Linked DNA regions of Homo sapiens: region 2 is linked to region 1. The links are contacts of gene promoters, found by promoter capture Hi-C in blood cells and fetal thymus (Javierre and others, 2016). All regions are on one chromosome and are shown on one strand. The core of a region is centred on a gene start or on the middle of the fragment in contact, and the rest is flanking DNA. Distances in the headings are between cores, read along the strand shown. Region 1 holds the start of PTX4 (pentraxin 4). Region 2 overlaps CRAMP1 (cramped chromatin regulator 1).

Region 1 (5,569 bases), core at 1,492-3,991:
CTGAGGCCGCAACTGTTGCCCGGGAGGTGGAGCCGAGGGAGGCATATGCAGGGGTGAGGCCTGGAGGGAGTGAGGCAGTGGGCCAGGCCACAGAAGGCCCTCGCAGGGACTAAGATTTTGCTTGTGTGGCAGGCATCTCCTGGAGCCATTGAAGGCACGGGTCCATGCTGGTGCAGTTAGGAGAGCAGACGGTAGGGGGGCGACACGGACGAGGGGACTAGGTGGCCATTGTGAGGATGAGCTTGGGGCGGAATGGGGGTGTAGAGAAGCAGCTGAACTCAGGGCATGTCTCTGCAGGCAGAGCTGATGGATGGGATATGGGGCAGGCAGCATCCCATCATCCCGGAAACTCCTCCTCCGTCCGCTGCTGGGTTCCAGCCCTCGCCAGTGCCCACGGCAGCTCCGTCCTTCCCTATTCCCTTCTTTTCCTGAAGCCCCGCATCCAACAGTGGGTGCTTGGAGGACAAATTTCTCAAGCCTTTGTGTGTCTGAAAATGTCTTTATTCTTTGCTCTGTCACCCAGGCTGGAGTGTAGTGGCGCGATTTCAGCTCACTGCAACCTCCTTCTCCCCGGCTCAGGCGATCCTCCCGCCTTAGCCTTCCAAGTAGCTGGGACTGCAGGTGCACACCACCACGTCTGGCTGATTTTTGTAATTTTAGTAGAGACGGGGTTTTGCCATGTTGCCCAGCCTGGTCTCGATCTCCTGGACTCAAGTGATCTGCCCACCTTGACCTCACAAAGTGCTGGGATTACAGGAGAGAGCCACCACACCCTGCCCCGACCCACAACTTTAAATGGAAATCAGGCAGGCTCAGTGGCTCACGCCAGTAAACCCAGCACTTTGGCTAGGCTGAGCTGGGAGGATTGCTTGAGCCCAGGAGTGTTTGAGAACAGCCTGGCAACATAGCAAGACCCTTCTCTACCGAAATAAAATAAATACATAAATAAATGGAACTCACTGTCAGTTGGAAGCTGCGAGATCCGCCGCTCTGTGTGTGGCACCAGCGTCGCTGTCCTGGTGGCTGCCAGTCCCCCGGGGCCTAAGGCCCCAACCCCGTCCATGTGCCCAGGATGTTCTCTCCGATGCTTTCTGCATCTTCTCCATGTCCATGGTGTTCTGACGCTTGACAAGGGGAGCCTGGGGGCCACCGATGGTTTCCTGGCCTGGCACCCTCTTGGCTCATGCCACCTTGGGAATGATGGATGCCCCCAGTGGGACAACTTTGTGGATGATCTTATTCCCATGAGCTGGGCGGCTTGAAACAACAGAAATGAGTCCTATCACAGTTCTGGGGGCTGGAAGTCTTGAAGTGAAGGTGCACACTCCCTCGAAGGCTCTGGGCTGGGGGTTCCCACTTTACCTCTTCCAGCTTCTGGGGCCTCTGGGGGTTCCTCGTGGCAGCGTCACCCCAGTCTCTGCCCCATCTTCACAGGCCGTGTCCTCTGTGCCTCCTCCTCTGTCTCTTGTACCCCTGTCATTGGCTTTAGGGCCACCTGGATAATCCAGGATGGTCTCATCTCAAAATCCTTCATGACATCCGCAGAGACCTTTTCCACATAAGGCCCTGCCTGGGGCTTATGTGTGTTTTTAGGAGGGTCTCATTCAAGCCAGTACACAACCTGTAACCAAAAATACCAGCCTGGCCCACATGGGGCAACCCCGTCTCTACTACAAATACAAAAATTGGCCGGGCGCGGTGGCTCATGCCTGTAATCCCAGCATTTCGGGAGGCTACAGCGGGTGGATCACCTGAGGTCGGGAGTTTGAGACCAGCCTGGCCCACATGGTGAAACCCCGTCTCTACTAAAAATACAAAAATTAGCCGGATGTGGGGGCACATACCTGTAATCCCAGCTACTTGGGAGGCTGAGACAGGAGAATCCGTTAAACCCAGGAGGCGGAGCTTGTGGTGAGCGGAGATCGCACCACTGCACTCCAGCCTGGGTGACAGAGCAAGACTCCGTCAAAAAAATTAATTAATTGGCCAGGCGCAGTGGCTCATGCCTGTAATCCGAACACTTAGGGAGGCTGAGGCAGGCAAATCATGAGGTCAGAAGTTTGAGACCAGCCTGACCAACATAGTGAAACCCCATCTCTACTAAAAATACTAAAATTAGCCGGGCATGGTAAAGCACGCCTGTAATCCCAGCTCCTCAGGAGGCAGGAGGCTGAGGAAGGAGAATCGCTTGAGCCGGGGAGGCAGAGGTTGCAGTGAGCTGAGATTGCGCCATTGCACTCTAGCCTAGGCAACAGAACGAGACTCCATCTCAAATAATAATAATAATTAATTAATTAAGGTGGCTCCCAGTCACATTTCCATTGCTTTACTGAGAGAGACGGGGCCTCCCAGGATGCAGCCGTGCACGGCCTGGGTGATGGGTGCCTGTGCAGACCTGGCTCTGTTGACTCCCCAGCCCCCGTCGGGTTCCCTGTCTTGCTTCGACTTCTCGGGAGCACAAGTCCATGTGCTCCTGTTAAAGCCATCGCCTCCTGCCCGCGGGCTTGCACCCAGCTGAATGATTCTTCAAAGAAACTGTTTGCATCTGTTTTAAGCTTGTCTCCTTAGGAACCTGCAAGTCTCAGAGCCCACTGGCTTGAAGGCAGATGCCTTTCATGGAGGCGGCAGGAAGAACCTGACATCCAGCCAGGGCCAAAGAAGGAAAACCACTCAACAGGAGAGCTGGGGGGACGAGACACAAGACAGACCCACGGAGCCACCTTCACCCTCTCCTGCGGCTGGAGGGAGACTGCTGGGGCCTTGCCGTCTCTCCGGATGGGTTGCTCGTGGAGGAAGACCTTGTCTTTCTTCCTTGTTTTTGTGCCTATATATCTACATGGGGCTTCATCGCAGGAAGCCGCCCCAGTGGGGCCCAGGAAACCGTTTTTCGAGAGGCTCCGTAGGCTGGAGGAACAGGCAAGTTATACCCCTGACATGGCGCAGTCGGGTTTTTAAATTGGCAGCAGATGGAAGACGGATGTTACAGAAGCAGATTGGTAAACATCAGGGCTTGGCGGACACGAACACCGCGTGTGACGCTCTTTCCATCCATGAAGATTATTTCACCTGCAGTTGGACACCAGGGAAGAGCTGAGCTGGGCTCCACTCACACAGGACACAAGCCTCATAACATGTGGGGGTCAGGTGGGGCCAGAGGCTAGAAGGGGGTCTGGAAGGGAGTCAGGGGAACTGGGGGCCATGGGGGCCGGGTAGTGTCATGGGGAGTGGAAACTGGGAGGTCACAGGTCCACCTTGTGGCAGTCGGTGTGAACGGCCTCCCGGACTCCCACGCGGGGTCCACGGACAGTTCCGGAGTGCTGTGGGCCTGTCGGGCCTGCGCTGGGTGCTTCCTGTTTGGGCCTCGTAAAGCACTCATGAGGCCACCCTGCCGTCCCCTGCTCACAGGCAGGAGCTGGAATCACGAGGGAAAGTGACTTGCCGGTGGTTATGGGGTGAGCGGTGGGGATCAGAGCCCCAGCTGTGGGCCTGGAGTCCACACCCCACGTGGTGCAGCTGCATGGCCTGGGGTCAGTCCCTGGCACCCACCACATCTCACGGCATCGCAGTGGGGATCAAATCGGTGGGCAGATAGCCAGTGCTGGCCGTGGCCCGGGCACGCGGCCGCTGCTCCCAACTTGAGAGGGCAAAGCCTTTCCCGTCCCGCCCAGCCGGCCCGGCCCGGCCCGCCCCATCATCACCGTGTCCTCCTTACAGTTCCGGAGATTCCAGGAGGTGACCTGGACACACCTGCAGAACATCGCCAGCAACTACAACGTGTCCTACAACGTTGACGTCCGGTTCCGGAGCCTGGCGGAAGAGAGCCAGGCTGTGGCTCAGGCAGTCAACCGGTCACAGGCCTCGGTGCAGGGGGAGCTGGCGCAGCTCAAGGCCTGGGTGAGGAAGCTGCAGCGCCGAGGCCGGAAAGTAGACACGCGGCTGCGGGCCTTGGACCTCACCCTGGGCGAGAGGAGCCAGCAGCGGGCCCGGGAAAGGAAGGCACACAAGGCCCAGAGGGACGCCCTGCAGGACTCACTGGCACGCCTGGAGGGCCTCGTCCACAGCCAGGGCGCCAGGCTGGCTGCTCTGGAGGGGCGGCTGCCCGTGGCCCACCCTGGCACTGCAGCCCTCGGGCCGGCCCTGGTCCCAACCCCAACCCAGCCTGAGGAGCTGGGCCCGACCTCCCTGAAGCTTCAGAGGGACAGGCAGGAGCTCCGAGCTGCCTCTGAGCACAGGGGCCCCCCACAGGACTCCTCGGCCCCTCTCCAAGGGAGGCGGGAGCCTCCAGCCTCAGGCAGCCATCGGGTACTCAGTGGGACTGCCCCAAAAGACCCTCGGCAGCAGGCATGGTCCCCCCAGGTGCCAGGAGAGAGTAAGTACCACAGGCTCCCAGCTCACGGCCAGGCTTCCCTCCAGCTCCTCCTTAGACCAGGCCCCCTGGAAAAGGCTTCTCAAAAGAGGTTCAGTTAGGGGCCGGGAGATGGGGAGAGGGTCTCGGATCATCGGGGGGGGTGGCCCACCGTCATCACAGAGGCTTTCTAAGGGGAGGCAGGAGGAACACAGTCAGAGGAGGGCGTGAGGGCAGAAGCAGAGGTGGCGGGATGCACAGACGAGGAGGCCCCACGCCGAAGGGTGCAGGCGCCTCTGGAAGCTGGAAAGGGCGGGAGATGGTTTCTCCTGGAGCCTCCAGAGGAACCAGCCCTGTCCACACCTGATTTGAGCCCTGGGAGACCGTGTTGGCCTTGTGACCGCCAGAAATGTGAAACACTAAACCTGCGCTGTTGTGAGTCATGAAATTTGCAGAGACTCCCTGGCAGTGAGGGGCGCTGGCTCAGCTGGGTGGGCCGACAGCTAGGGCTCCTAGCAGGACCCCGCCACTCCCGAGTACGGCCCTCATGTTCAGTCTTCCCGCCTGTGGAACTGGGGTGATCCCATCAAGAGAGTGAAGGAGACGCTGCAGGGGAGCCATCGGCAGGGCCAGCGCAGAGTCAGTGCTCCGTGAAGGGTGGCAGCCGGGAGTGGGAGGCCAGGCACCCACAGCACGTGTGCTTCTGGATGCTTCTGCTCGGCCTCCTGCAAGGGGTTGACCCTCCCTCCTCTGTTTCTAGTTTGCGGCGTGGGCCCCACCCTCGTTTTCCCAAACGCCTCCACCAGGAACGTGGTCTTCCTCAGCCCTGGTTTCGTCACTGCCCTGCGAGCCCTGTCCTTCTGCAGCTGGGTCCGCACGGCCTCCGGCCGCCTGGGCACCCTCCTGTCCTACGCCACCGAGGACAATGACAACAAGCTGGTGCTGCACGGCCGAGACTCCCTGCTGCCCGGATCCATCCACTTCGTGATCGGGGACCCGGCCTTCAGGGAGCTGCCCTTGCAGCTGCTGCTGGACGGCCAGTGGCACCACATCTGTGTCATCTGGACGTCCACCCAGGGCAGGTACTGGCTCCACGTGGATCGCAGGCTGGTGGCCACCGGCTCCCGCTTCAGGGAGGGCTATGAGATCCCCCCCGGAGGGTCCCTCGTGCTGGGCCAGGAACAAGACAGCGTGGGGGGCGGATTCGACAGCTCCGAGGCCTTC
Region 2 (5,127 bases), core at 1,379-3,878, 180 kb before region 1:
TCTGGAAAATTCTGAATAGAGCTATGGCGTAAATGAAATTTTATGCTTTGATTATGGGAAATGTCAGACAAATTAAAATTTGTTTTCAAAAGCAGAGCAAAGAGTAATTCTCCTTCCCCTGTATGTCCATCAGCAGCTCCCACCCGTTTCATCCCAGGGCCACCCAGCTCCACCCCCGCCCCCTTCATGCTAGCCCTACCACCAGACCCTTTCATCCACAAATGCCTCAGCCCATCCTTCCAGATGACGAGGACCTGCTGAGAAACATACTCACGTTCTGAGTGGAGGGCTCTCGGGAAAATCTCATGCTAAACGCTGATCTGCTCTTTCTGAAGGTGAACACGTTTGCATTACTCGCGACGGGCAGCGTTTCACAAATACTAACTGCACCCTTTCTCTGCTACTCACTCCCAAGTGCCATCTGTTGCCCAGGATTTTATTAAAGGTGCAAATTCTGATTGGGGTGAGGCTAACACTCTGGATTTCTGACTCCAAGGGGCTCCTGTCACTGGGCTGTGGCCCGTCCTTTCAACAGCATGGCGTGAGCATGCTGCCTCAGGGCACGTACGCAGCGCCCATCTCCACAGAGCCCAGCACTTAGGAACATGCGCACAAACAGGGGAAGAGACAGAGACTGGCTTCTCGGGAAACATCAGAGTCCAAGGTGTGCCCTGAATAATGATTCTGGGGCCAAACAGGTTTGAGAAACGCCACACACTGTGAGATGGAGGTCTACGCTATTAATTGTGTCTATGTGTATATTTGGCTAAAATTTCCAGTCATATCATGGCTTGGCTTGGAATTCTCCAAAGCCTGCCCATGAGTTCATCATCTCAAGAGTCACGATTCACATTCGGATACTGGGTAGCGGAGGTGTCCGTGAGAAACAGCTGTTTTGAGCTTTTTTGGATCCAGGGTGTCCCTCAAGTATCTACCCACAAAATCCTCAAGGAACACCTGCCAATGTCTCAACATTGTGGGGACTAGATTCGGGGAATGCTGCTCCAGGACTTTCACATGGGCTAAGCCCATGCGGATGATCTCCTGGACCTGGAGTTCCCTCCCTGTCCATAGAGCCCTCACCCGACTGCCCACACACCTGCCACTCTGCACTTTACGTCACAGTGAAACGGGCCTGTCTTCACCCTGCAAGCCTGACCTGCCCACGAATGCCACACAAACCATGTGGTGGACGCCTTGAGGGCTACAACCAGATGGCCTGGCCAACAAAGAGGGACGCTGCATCTCGTCAAAAGTGGAGAGTCACAAACCACGTTTCGCCTTCCCCTCAAGAACCTGCCCCAGTGACTCCTCCTATCACTACCCTGGGCGTGGGAGAAGCATGAGGACAGCAGAGCCCATCCCAGTTCCCCTGCACCGCAGCTCAACATGACAGGGAGATGCCACTCAAAGGTCCTGCTGTTAGGATGGGAGCACTGACAACACAACTGCTGCCACCACCCCTTACTCCTCCCTCCACAACACTCCCCGCACCTCAGCACCTCACAGCCAGGGAAGGAGAGGTAACATCCCCACTCGGCTCTGGCTGCCTTCAGAGACCCTGCTCTGCGCCCCAGACCAGGGTTTCCAGTTCAGAGGCCTGCAGAGCTCAGCTATGACTAAGTCTGTCATTCTGCATGTGGGGACGAGAGCCGGCCCAGCGTCCCCAGATCTCTCCATTCTCAGTAGTCAGGGACCTGAGTGTGGACGTGCTGTCTCCTGTTCTTCTACTCTTGGCAAACAGCTCTTACTAACCCACAGGTGTGCAGGAGAGTGCTGGCAACCTCTGGCACGAGGGTTGGTGGTCAGGTGCAGCTGTGAGGTCAATGCACTCACCTCTGCAACGTCAGCCAGGGACCTGGACACAAATGAGTCCCGCGAGTTTCCATCCAACAAGCTGGGGCCAAGCAAGGAAGTGCCACTGTTGGTCCCAATGGGAGTCGGCAACATCTTCCGGCTCTTCTCTGGGGAGATGAAGCTTGCTGCGGAGAAAAGGCCAGAGGAAAACACCCTGAACCCTGCTTGGTCTGGACCAGTCCAGCGGAAGGGTCCTGAGGCTGGGGGCAGCCAGCCCAAGCCCTAGCCCCGGCCCCGGCCCCAATCCAGACTTGTGCGAAGAGCTTCCGAGGGACTCAACACGCCGTGACGAGCTCTTCTCGTTTAACAGGCCTTCGTGCATACAGACATGCACCTTGTTTTCCACGAGTCCCACGGTCTCCCACCCTCACTGCCATCCCCCACCCCCATCACGGTCTCCCACCCTCGCTGCCATCCCCCACCCCCATCATGCTCTCCCACCCTCACTGCCATCCCCACCCCCATACTTTCTTCTCTGTGACTAGTCTCATGCAGGTTGTTTCCAACTTTGCTTTTAATTTTTTTTAAAGGCAGGGTCTCGCTCTTGCCCAGGCTGCAGTGCAGTGGTGATCATGGCTCACTGCAGCCTCGAATTCCTAGGCTCAAGCAATCCTCCCACCTCAGCCTCCCGAGTTGCTGGGACTACAGGCATGCACCCCCCACACCTGGCTAGTTTTAAAATTTTCTGTAGAGACAAGGTCTCTCTATGCTGCCAAGGCTGGTCTCAAACTCCTGGCCTCAAGCAGTCCTCCTACCTTGGCCTCCCAAAGTGCTGGGATTACAGACATGAGCCACCACGCCTGGCCTGTTTCCAGTTTTTCAAGATTTACGTGTGACTTTCCAAACATCTGCACTGCTACATGAGACAAAAGGAAACGCCTGCAGGGTGCTGGGTCCCTCAGCACCTCCCAGACCCAGGTCGCCCAACTGGTTCAGAGCTGTCAGGCATGGTACCCGCCATGCCTGATGTGCCCAGCCACAAGCCCTGGCCCCGTACAACTGTGGGCGGGAAGACCCCAGACATCCAAATGGGAGCTCTCTCTGGGCAGGCAACAGCAGCAGGGTGTGCCTTTCCCTGATACACCCCCTTCCTGCCACACTTGCTACCCAGTGGGCAAACGGGCAGTGGGGGAGGAGGATGGACACGTCCTCTGAACTCTCCGATCTATATTCAAGAATGTGCCAGGTGGCAGCTGGACCATCCACTTCTGAATACCTTACTGACCACAGAAAGAGAAGAGCCAAGAGAGTGCCAAGACACCAGTTTCCTTTTCTCCCCTCAAGAGAACCCAGTCGGGAGGGGCCGGGCTAGCTGAACAGACTGGGAAGGCACACAGAACCCAGCATCTGGGGTCACGGGAATGTTCTAGGTCTCCATTGGCTTGTGGGTTACCAGGCTATACATGCTTGCCAAAGCTTGGTGAACTGTACACTAAAAATGTGTACATTTTCCTACATGTAAATTACACCCAAAAATATTAACTCAGAAAAATACAAACACTTGAGAAGCGAACAAGCCAACAGTCCTAGTGGGAGTTTGAGTAGAATGAGAATCCAGTGTCCCGCAGACCCCAGCCCCTGCTGCCCTGGAAAAGGAGATGGGAGCCCTCCCCATACACTCACCAAACAGGCTGCTGAGCGAGGAGTCGGTGGAGTCACTGGGGTACCACTGGGGGTCGTGGGTGGGAGAGGCGATCCAGTGTGGCTGGGGGCTGCTGGACGGGGAGGGAAGGCTCTTGGAACTGTCACTGCCATTCAGTTTTGCTGGAGAAAGAGGGACTCCTTCACCTGCCAACCAAGATCCCAGATCAGAAACGCCTTGTTGCGGGGTGGTGAACAGCAACTCACTTCTCCAGCCCACCACGGAGAAGGCAGCAGGGCCGCAGGGCTCTACCCTGCTGAACCAGATGGATGGCATGGCTCGGCAGGTAAGGAGCGCAGCACCGCAGAACAGCTCTGCAGGGAGGCAGGGCGCAGCGGAGTGAAGGCGACGGCAGTAGCCACCACGGGTTGCACATGAGTCATCTCACGGCACCCACAGCAGCCCTAGGAGCTGTACCTTATTCTCAATTTACCGCTTAGGAAAGGGAGGCTCAGCAAGGTGGTGAGCTGCCCAAGGCTACATGCTAGCACACTGTGAACTCATATCTCTCTCAGCCCACAGCCTGGGTCGCGCCAGTGAACAACAAACCACTGCCCCCAGGAGCTTTGTCCCAGACAGCAGGTGAGACCAAAGCCCACAGGGCCCAGCCCAACTGCTTCACAAGCTGTGCAAGACCCCAGGCCGCCTGCTCAGGTTCAAGATCAACTAGGAAAACACTCTGTGATCCCCAGGCTGAAGAGCACCTGGGGGCCATTCCACTGTCTCGCCTGAAGGTCAGGAGCAAGCCTACCAGGCCATCAGCTGCCTCAGGTCCCACAGGTACCTTATCCACCTGCAAGGTCCCTGCTGGAGACAGGCAGCACCTTGTAGGTGACAGGTTTTCAATTCGTAAAAATCACAAAACTGGAATATCCCCAGGAAGTGTGGCAAACATTGGGGCAGGAGATCAACACCTGATGACAGGAAGGGCTGTGAGGCCGCCCTGCCCTTACCGTACTGACCGGAGCTGATGGCGATCTCAATGATGGAGTCGCTAATGTGTGTGGCAGGCTCGCCCTGTGACAGCGCATCCTCAGGTGGGCCGGGCAGGGAGATGTCGAGCAGAGCAGAGACGTCTGGTGGAGACAGCCGGGTGCTGGAGCTCTCTGACGAGGACAGCGGTATGGAGAGGCCATTCTGGAGAGGGGCCTTGGGCAGCTCAGATAAGGAGAGAACAGATGAGCCCTGCTGGGAGACAGGTATTTTTCAGACACAACCAGGTCTATCAGAACCCATGACAAGGGAAGAAACACCAGCTTACTCTCCTAGCTTGCAGGCAAATCAATAGGGTGATGAGCGCTGCAGTCACCTCATCCTTCCAACTCAGGAACACACTCGGGGAATTTATTTCTCCCAAAAACACTCACTATGGCAGAGTCAGAAAGTCAGGCTGCAGTGGCCTGGACCTGCTTTGACTGCTGCCAGAAAGAGAGTGGGGGCTGGGGGAGTTACTAGCTGACAGCCTCCTCCTCCCAGAAAGCTGAGTTCTTCCAGAGCGCTAAGTTCTTCCAGAGCTGGGTCTGAAACAGCCCACCTTGGAGAGGGGAGGAGGGAAGTCTGAGGTGGCGGACAGCCATATTCATTTATCCACCCTGGGCAGTCGGCACAGCAGGTGGAAGAACAGCAAA

What was found. Contacts are between HindIII fragments. The CHiCAGO score rates a contact against its expected background, and 5 or more counts as called.
Region 2: a fragment that was not itself captured here is called in contact with the fragment with the promoter of PTX4 in region 1 in 1 of 17 cell types (endothelial precursors); the score reaches 5.4 in endothelial precursors.

The regions. Positions count from the first base shown.
Region 1 is chr16:1,486,116-1,491,684 of GRCh38, reverse strand. It overlaps PTX4 (pentraxin 4), which reads left to right and starts at 2,741. Exons shown (of 3, transcript NM_001328608.2): 1 at 2,741-2,916; 2 at 3,715-4,369; 3 at 5,106-5,569. The coding sequence starts at 2,776. The HindIII fragment of the contact is 1,633 bases long and covers 2,558-4,190 here.
Region 2 is chr16:1,667,519-1,672,645 of GRCh38, reverse strand. It overlaps CRAMP1 (cramped chromatin regulator 1), which reads right to left. Exons shown (of 21, transcript NM_020825.4): 18 at 4,453-4,684; 19 at 3,481-3,645; 20 at 1,837-1,982. Among named protein-coding and RNA genes, the nearest start is that of JPT2, 8.2 kb to the left of the region's middle. The HindIII fragment of the contact is 1,295 bases long and covers 1,981-3,275 here.